Regions from separate parts of the Homo sapiens genome. Here region 2 is linked to region 1. Evidence: promoter capture Hi-C in 16 types of primary human blood cells and fetal thymus (Javierre and others, 2016). All regions are on one chromosome and are shown on one strand. Each heading gives the region's core, a stretch centred on a gene start or on the middle of the fragment in contact. The rest is flanking DNA. Distances are from core to core; before and after follow the strand shown.

The links. Contacts are between HindIII fragments. The CHiCAGO score rates a contact against its expected background, and 5 or more counts as called.
Region 2: a fragment that was not itself captured here is called in contact with the fragment with the promoter of EMX1 in region 1 in 1 of 17 cell types (endothelial precursors); the score reaches 5.0 in endothelial precursors.

Annotation. Positions count from the first base shown.
Region 1 is chr2:72,915,378-72,920,036 of GRCh38, reverse strand. It overlaps EMX1 (empty spiracles homeobox 1), which reads right to left and starts at 2,518. Exons shown (of 3, transcript NM_004097.3): 1 at 1,665-2,518. The coding sequence starts at 2,184. RefSeq lists silencers at 2,113-2,232, 2,303-2,722, 3,863-4,032 and enhancers at 2,537-3,153, 3,154-3,771. The HindIII fragment of the contact is 6,474 bases long and covers 1-4,637 here.
Region 2 is chr2:73,135,312-73,139,770 of GRCh38, reverse strand. No RefSeq gene overlaps it. Among named protein-coding and RNA genes, the nearest start is that of RAB11FIP5, 25 kb to the right of the region's middle. The HindIII fragment of the contact is 223 bases long and covers 1,164-1,386 here.

The DNA.
Region 1 (4,659 bases), core at 1,269-3,768:
GAGCCCCTATCCCTCCACAAGCCTCCAACCCGCCAGCCCCTCGGCCGCGGCGGCCCGCGGGCTCACACACCGCCCCAACTACAACTCGGCCCCTGGGCGCCAGGTTTCGAGACCCAGGCTTCGGATCGAGCCCACGGAGGACCAGGGTAGATTGCTCAATTTTAAAGATATCCTCATGTTATCAGTAAACATTTATTTTTAAGTGGCAGAAACTCTTGCCCAAGGCAGATGACATTGTAGCATTTTTGTTTTTTCGGATTTGGATTTGGGCAAGTCTTTGAAATCTTCAAAGAGGAGGCAAGGCTACCCACAACAATTCTTATTCTAGTAATTACATTCTCTGGTTTTGTGGTATCTGCCAGGTCAGCATCTATTGGCCAGGTGGGACTGAAAAAATTGCCTGACAAATCGGGACCTGGGAAAGCGGTTTTCTGTGAAAGTCAAAGTGTCAAGAGATAATTTTCATTTTATTATCTAAACAACTGTGCCAAACATCTAATTGACTGTAGACCTAGACTACAGACCGTCACATTAGCTCCTGGAGCCGAAGCTCCAGCCATGTCCCTTTCATTTGTTTCTCTAAAAGCCGGGTTACCTAGCTCTGAGCCATAGACCCTTCTCACAAGGCTGTGGTCTGGTCTACACTAACAAAATAAAACTGGAAACTAAAGTGATGCCTGTACAAATCAAGGCCACTCTTTAAAATAAAATTTAAAAAAAAAGAAAAGAAAAAAACAAACTCCAACAAATTTCAAGGAAGAAAACGAACTCCAACAAATGCAACTCTCTTTTCTCCGGGAAAGACAAATAATTGAAACGTGTGTGTGTGTGTGTGTGTGTGTGTGTGTGTGTGTGTAGGGCCAGTGGAGGATCTTTATTAGCAAGCCGATTGCTGGATGCAAACTCCGGGGTTCGGACTGGCTACGACCTTAAAAGCCCTCTGCCCCCGCCCCCTGCCCGGGAAAACTGTCCTCGGTATTCCAGCAGCCGGGTGGGCTCCCTCCCGAAGGCGGCGAGCAACGGCGGAAGCCAGTTTGCTTACTGCAAACCTTCCCCACCTTGGGTAGGAGAGGCACGTGTGACTTGGAGAAGTCGGGCCAAGGTTGCCGAGAAACATCCCAAGACAGCCAGGCCCTCCACACTGAACATTAACTCTCCGATTCGCCCTCCCTGCTGCCCTTGCTTCCCCCAGAGCTGGGGCACGCGAATGGACTTTCCCCCGCCCGGACGCGCCAGCGAAGGCTGAGGTCTCGGAGGTGGTGGTGGACTTGCGAGAGAAGCGTGGTGCGAGGTTAAGCCGGGCGGAGGGAGAGCGGGAGGAGTTGTACTCTGGTCTGAGACTGGCTCAGCTGGGAGAGAGAATTGGGCAGGCTGTGGCGAGGGCCAGCACAGGCTCCGAGGACGCGCCTGGGCTTGCGTCCGAACTGGTATATTTTCTAGAAAAGCCTGGAGGTCTCCACCTGCTTTCCTGGGAGGGAGACCTACGCGGCGAAGGCGCGGGTGGATGCCGCACAGCTCTTCCCTGCCTGGGAATCTACCTCCGCGGACCTGCAGCCTTCCCGGCAGTAACTTCTAAACAGCCCCGCGCGCCCCCGAGCCTCCCCCGCATCGCCGCAGCACGGGCGCCGGCCGGCCGCCTCGGCGGGCACAGCGTGGACACTCACCCTGGAAGCGGTGGCCGAAGAAGCGGTTCCGCAGGACCCAGGGGTAGAAATGGAGAGGGTCCCGGTGCTGGGCGCCGAAGAAGGAGTGCGGGGGCTGCAGCGGGGAGGCGCCCAGCTGGTGCGCCGGATGCACGGTCAGCGCGGGGTGGTTCATGGCCTCGGGGAACACGAGCTCGGGCCCACCGTAGAGCGAGCGGCCCGCGCCCGCGGCGGCCGCGGCAGGGAAGCCACTCACGAAGGCCGCCTCGGCCGCGCTGGGGTGAGGGTAGTTGAGCGCCGTGGGCCGGAGCGGTTCCTCGGAGGCGGCCGCCGCCAGGAGATGGGAGCCCGCGCCCCCGCCGCCAGTGCCCCCGCCGGTGCCGCCGTCCTTGGCCACCAAGGACTCTATGGTAAAGCCGCGCTTGGCCGCGGGCTGGAACATGGTCGCAGCCGCGGGAGCTGTGCGAGGCAGCCGGGCTCTGGGGAGCGCTCCGCGTCCTGGCGCCGCCGCCTTGCGGGGTGTGCACCCAGCCAGGCACATGCACACCCGCCCGCACCCCTCACCTCCCCCGCCCGCCCGCTCGCGCTCGGCCCCCGCGGGCGAGCCAGGCGCGGAGCGGCGAGGGGTGTGTGAGCGAGCGACCGCGGGGTCCGGCCACAGCGTACGGCCAGGCGCGGCGGCTGCTGCGGCGGAGCGGGCAGCTCCAGGCGCCCGCACAGGCGCGGGCTCCGTGCTAGGCTGCGAGCTGCCAGTAAGGCCCGAGGGTTGAGCTCGTCTCCCTCCTTTCGGAGTCCCGCTGGGACCGACCCCAGCCCCCGGTGTCCCCGCACTGCCCTGCCCAGCCCCGGCCGCCCAGCGCTGCGAGGCGCGAGTTAGCGGGCACCTGCCCCGCGCTCGCCCATTGGCCGCCGCTCACCTGCCCCAAGGTGGGGGGCGGGGCGGGGCGGGGCGAGGGACGGCGGGTGGGGAGGGAGCCCGCAGTCGGAGGCAAAAGCCGGACTGGAGCCTTCGCGGGGAGATCCAGGCCTCCTCCTCCCCTCGCCACTGGCTTCTCCTCGCGACTCCGCCCTTTAGCTGAGTCTGGTGGCCGTGCCGCCGTCTCAACCCACGCGGGAGCCGAAGAAGGCGTCCGAAGGGCTTGGGGCTAAACTCCAACCCTCCCCTCCCCGGTGTGTAGCTCAGCCTAACTCTCCCATTCGTCCCGGGATGTCGTTTCAGTTCTCAGAGAACTTGGATCCGAGCGGAGGGTGGATGTTTGGGGTCCAACACATTGGTTTTCCCGAAAACCAGCTCTCTGCCCCCCTGCTCTCCGGGACTCTCCCACTCACCCACCATCGGCCTCCTGGGCCGCGGTCTGAAGCTGCGACCTTGTTCCTGAGGTTTCGCGTTTTCTGGATGTCACGGGGGACAGCTCTGGAAAGGGGACGCTCACTCCCTTCACAAGGGGCCAGGCGGGGCACTGCGCGGGAGAAGCCGCCGGAGCGGTCCCACTGCCACCCTCCAGCTGTTCGCGGGGCTGGAAGCAGCTCCAGTGCCCAGACACGGTGCCGCGACCGGCTTGGACCAGGACGGCGGGCCTCGGCACTGGGAGATCCACCCCCTCGCCTTCTCTGAGGCTCTGGGGGCTCAAGTGTCGGCGGGCCGGACCAGGTCAGGGCCTCGGAGACACTGTGGCTTAAATTGAAGCTGGCCAAGTAGCCCGAGCCCATCTCAAGAGAACACGCCAGCCGTCAGGACACGCAGAAGCAGCCTGACCTCCCTCGACCTTCACCTTCCACCCGCGACCGCGGAACCGCGGACGACTCTGCTCCGGCCAGTTTTTCCGTACGGCGGACGAATTCCCCGGGGGCAGTTCTCACGACAGGCTGTGAGAGCCGGGACTCCCCAAACTTTCCCACCCCACCTTCGAGGCCGCAGAAAGGCGCCGCTCCGAGGCCTAGGAGGGCGCGGGCGGCGGTGGGGAGGCTGGGACCTGGACCTTGCCGGCGCACTGCGGAGAGGGAGCCGCAGAGAGTTCCGCTTCCTCGCCGCTGCCGGGGTCCATTCTAGCGGCCTGAGCGCTGCCTGGGCGCGCAGATCTGGGTTGGGCCTCCTGACGCCCCAAGGCCACGGGGTCCGTGCGCCGCGCAACTCTGCGGGGACTCCAGGCCGGGTCTTGGCAGCGGCCCGCCTGAGCGCCGGGAGCCGTGGTTTGGAGAGCGCTCAGGGCGCCCCGGCCGCCACAAAGCGGGTTAAAGTCTATTTTCCACTCGACTGCTCCGAAAAGCCCCCGCGCGCCGACGCCGTTCCGGCCCCCTTGGGCGAGGTGGGGAGGGGCGGCCAGGGGTGGGGAGGCGAGGCGGCCGCACCCAGCACTCCTCCGCGTCCTGGGAACCCCGGGGCCTGGCACGGCTGAGACACCGCAGAGGCGCCTTCGGAAGGAATGATGGAATCCGTGGGGAGCGCGGGTTCTCGCTGGCCTCTCCGGAGATTTCCAGCTTTCTGTGATGGTCTTTTCCTCTCGTTTGTGTCTCAGGCTCTTTATTTTCCCCCTCTCCTGTCTCCCGGCTCCCCTACCTCCCGACTTTTCCTCCTCTGATTTCTTCCCCCTCCTCCTTTTCCCCACCCTCAGTCTGGGAAAAGTGGAAGCGCCGCCGAGGGGGGGACCAGGACCCGACCAGGCCGTATCTCTAAGGGGGCGGGGGTGCGGAGCTGGGCAGAGGTACAGAAGGAGATTTTCGTTCCATATGGAAGGAGACAACGACGGGATTTTGTTGGAACAAGGTTCCCACAGGGATGCGGGTTCAGTTGGGTAAACGTTGCCTGGGCCTGTGCTCTGCGGTGACAGAGCAAGTGCTGGGGGCTGAGACAAGACAGGAGCCCAGCAAGCTGAACCCGGCCCGAGGGCCTTGCGCTCCTAGCCTGGTAATGAATCCCACCCGTTCTGTCGCAGACCCCCACCGAGAGGCTGGCCAGGGGCCACGAACTTGTTTAACTGGGCAGGTAGAGAAGCTTGGAATCTACCGACCGTCCTAG
Region 2 (4,459 bases), core at 26-2,525, 220 kb before region 1:
GGTTAAAAAAAAACCCTTGAACTTGGAATAAAAGGGAGCTCTCTTAACTTGATAAAGCATATCTAACTGAAACCTACCATCAACATTACATATAATGATGCAAGACTGAATGTTTCTCCTTGAGATCAGGAACAAGGCAAGAATGTCAGCTCTTGCCACTTTCAATCAACATTGTCCTGGAGATTCAAGTCAGTGTGATAAGGCCAAAAAATAAGAATAAAGGCATCAACATTGGAAAAGAAGTAAAACTGTCTTTTTTTCCCACAGATGACGTGATCCTGTATATAGAAACAACAACAAACTACTGTTGTCGCCTGTAATCTCAGCACTTAGAGAGGCCAAGGCAGGAGGATTGCTTGAGCCAGCCTGGGCAACATAGCAAGACCCATCTCTAAAAACAAAACAAAACAGATAAACTATTATTGTTAAGATAGCAATATTGTAATATTGCCCAAATGGATCTGCAAATTTAATGCAATCCTGTGACATAACAAGAAATATATATTTGGTCTCTTCCCCGGGTTCCTAGCACAGAGCTGCTAAAAGTCTTGTGATTCCCCTGAGTGATAGGGGTGAGAGGAACACCTTTGGTTATTCATAATAAGCCCCTTTCAACCATACCTGGGTTTATGCTAATGAGGTGACTCTTGGAGGATGGGGGCTGGTTGACAGAGGAACCAACCTTGTAATTAGAGGGTTGGAATTTTCAGCCCCATCTCTTTGACCTCTGGGGAGGGGAGAAGGGCTGAAGATTAATGTCAGTCACAGAAGGTCAATGATTTAATAAATCATGCCTACATAATGGGACTTCCATAAAAACCCTAAATGACAGGGTTTGGAGATCTTCCAGGTTGGTGAACACATTAAGGTGCTGGGAGGGTGCGAGGCCTGAAAGGCTATGGAAGCTCTGTGCCCCTCCCTCCTCATACCCTGTCTCTTCCATTTGGCTGTTCCTGAGTTGTATCCTTTATAATAAACCGTACATGTAAGTGCTTCCCTGAGTTCTGCGAGCCATTACAGCAGATTATTGAATCTGAATAGGTGGTTGTAGGAAACCCTCACTTGTAGCTAAGTCACACAGAAGTGTGGGTAACCTGGGGACCCATTACTTGAGATTGGCATTTGAAGTCAGGGGCAGTATTGTGGGACTGAGCCCTTAAGCTTTGGGGTCTCACACTAACTCCAGGTAGCTACTGTCAGAGTTGAATTGAGTCATTGGACACCCAGTTGATGTTTGCAGAGAACTGAAGAATTGCTTGATGTGCGGGGAAAAAAATCCCAGACATTTGGTTTCGGAAGTGTTTTTGAGTATAGAAAACCTGTTTGTTTTCCCCTTTCAATACCTATCAAAATCTTGGTTGCCATTTTTGCTGAAATTGACAAGCTTATTCTAAAATTAATATGGAAATGCAAAGGATCTGGAATAGTGAAAATGATCTTGGAAAATAACAAAACTGGAGGACTCACACTTTCTGATTTCAAAACTTACTACAAAGCTACAGTAATCAAAACAATGTGGTATTGGCATAAGGATAGACATACAGGCCAATGGACTAGAATTTAGAGCTCAGACCTCACATGTAAGGTCTACTTATTTTTGGCCAAGGCAATTCAGTGGGAAAAGATATTTAATACAGTGTTGGTAAGGATGTGGAGAAACCAGATACCTCATACATTTCTGATGAGAATGTAAAATGGGCTAGGCACAGTGGCTTATGCTTGTAATCCCAGCACTTTGGGAGGCTGAGGTGGGTGGATCACTTGAGGTCAGGAGTTTGAGACCAGCCTGGCCCACATGGTGAAACCATGTCTCTACTAAAAATACAAAAAAATTAGCCGGGTGTGGGGGCGCATGATAGTCTCAGATATTCGGGAGGTTGAGGCAGGAGAATCAGTTGAGCCCAGGTGGCAGAGGTTGCAGTGAGCTGAAATTGTGTCACTGCACTTCAGCCTGGGCGACAGAGGGAGACCCTGTCTCAAAAAAAAAAAAAAAAAAAAAAAAAGAAAAAAGGAAAAGAAAAAGAGAATGTAAAATGTTACAGCCACTTCGAAGAACAGTTTGGCAGTTTCTTAAAAAGTTAAAACGAAAAACTTACCATTCCTAGGTATCTACCCAAAAGAAATGAAAACATATGTCCACAAAGACTTGTACATGAATATTCAGAGCAGCACTATTCATAATAACCCCAAACAGGAAACAGTCCAAATATCCATAAACAGGTTAATGGATCAACAAAATGTGGTAATGTGGTATATTCACACGACAGAACACAGCAATGAAAAGGAACTGCTTTTTTTTTTTTTTTTTGAGATGGAGTCTTGCTCTGTCGCCAGGCTGGAGTGCAGTGGCGCGATCTTGGCTCACTGCAACCTCTGCCTCCCGGATTCAAGCAATTCTACTGCCTCAGCCTCCTGAGTGGCTGGGATTACAGGCGCCCGCCACCACGCCCGGCTAATTTTTTTTTTTTTTTTGAGACAGAGTCTCGCTGTCACCCAGGCTGGAGTGTAGTGGCGCGACCTCGGCTCACTGCAAGCTCCGCCTCCCGGGTTCACGTCATTCTCCTGCCTCAGCCTCCCGAGTAGCTGGGACTACAGGCGCCCGCCGCCACGCCGGGCTAATTTTTTGTATTTTTAGTAGAGACGGGGTTTCACCGTGTTAGCCAGGATGGTCTCGATCTCCTGACCTCGTGATCTGCGTGCCTCGGCCTCCCAAAGTGCTGGGATTACAGGCGTGAGCCACCGCGCTCGGCCAAAAAGGAACTACTTTTTAGTAAAAAGGTCAGGCGTGGAAGCTCATGCGTATAATCCCGGCACTTTGGGATGCTGGGGTGGGAAGATCCCTTGAACCCAGGAGTTCAAGACCAACCTGGGCAACATAGAGAGACCCTATCTCTACAATAATAATAATTTAAAAAAGATGAAAAAGAAGGAACTACTAATATACACTGTGACACAGAAGAACCTCAAAAACATATTATACTAAGTGAAAGCCAGACATAAAGACTACATATTGTTGATCCCATTTACTTATATATATGTTTTGTTTGTTTATTTTGTTTATTTTATTTTACTTTTTTGAGACAGAGTCTCACTCTGTTGCCCCGGCTGGAGTGCAGTGGCGTGATCTCGGCTCAGTGCAACCTCTGCATTCCACATTCAAGCTATTCTCCTGCCTCAACCTCCCGAGTAGCTGGGATTACAGGCATGCGCCACCACACCCAGCTAATTTTTGTATTTTTTGTAGAGATGGGGCTTCGCCATGTTGGCCAGGCTGGTCTCAAACTCCTGACCTCAAGTGATCCGCCCACCTCAGCCTCCCAAAGTGCTGGGATTATAGTCGTGAGCCACCACGCCCGGCCATATTGTATGATCCATTTATATAAAGGGTACAGAAAAGACAAATCTATACAGAGAAAGTAGACCAGTGGCTGCCTGGGCTGGATCTGGTAGTAGGAACCAACTGCAGATAACCATGAGGGAACTTTTTGGGGTGATGAAAATATTCTAAATCTGGATTGTTGTAATAATTGCATAACTATAAACTTACTAAAAATAATCGAATTGTGTACTCACAATGGATGAGTTTTATGGTGTATACATTAAACTTCAATCAAGCCGTTGGAAAAAAAAAAATCATAGGATCATGGCCCAGAGTATTAGGATATTTTGGGTATATTTTACTATTCCACTTGGGGGAAAATCTGTCATGCTAGTTTCTGCCTCTAACAGGGTCCTAGTAGCAAAGATGATGTTTTCATGGATGTTTTGACTATCTGTGCCTGTATCAGGGAGTCCATGCAGATCCCGGTCATCACATCATCACCTAGGATCATTACATAGTTTCAAATCTGAGGGCTGCATCCTACTCTGTACTTGTGGTAGGCTGAATGATGGCCCCCAAAGATATTCAGATCTGAATCCCTGAAAACTGTGAGTGTATCCTCCTATGGCAAAAGGGACTTTACAGTTGTGACTAAATTAAGGATTTGGAGATGGGGAGTTTATTCTGCATTATCCAGGTGGGTGGGCCCTAAATATAATCACAAGTGCTTTTATAAGAGAGAGGCAGCAGAAGATTTGACAACAAAAGTAAGACATATGAAGATAGAAGCAAGAGGCTGAAGTAAGGGGTCACGAGCCAAGGAATGCAGGCAGAGTCCAGAAGCTAGGAAAGGCAAGGAAACAATTCTCCCCAGAGCCTCCAGAAGGAACGCAGCCCTGTAGACACCCTACAGCACTTCTTTCTCTTTCTTTCTTTCTTTTCTTTCTTTCTTTCTCTTCTTTCTTTCCTTCTTTCTCTTCTTTCTTTCCTTTCTTCCTTTCTTCCTTCCTTCCCTTTCTTTCTCTTTCCCTCCCTCCCTCCTTCCTTCCTTCTTTTTCTTTCTTTCTCTCTCTTTTTCCCTCCCTCCCTCCCTTCCCTCCCTTCCTCCCTCCTTCCTTCCTTCCCTCCTTCCTTCCT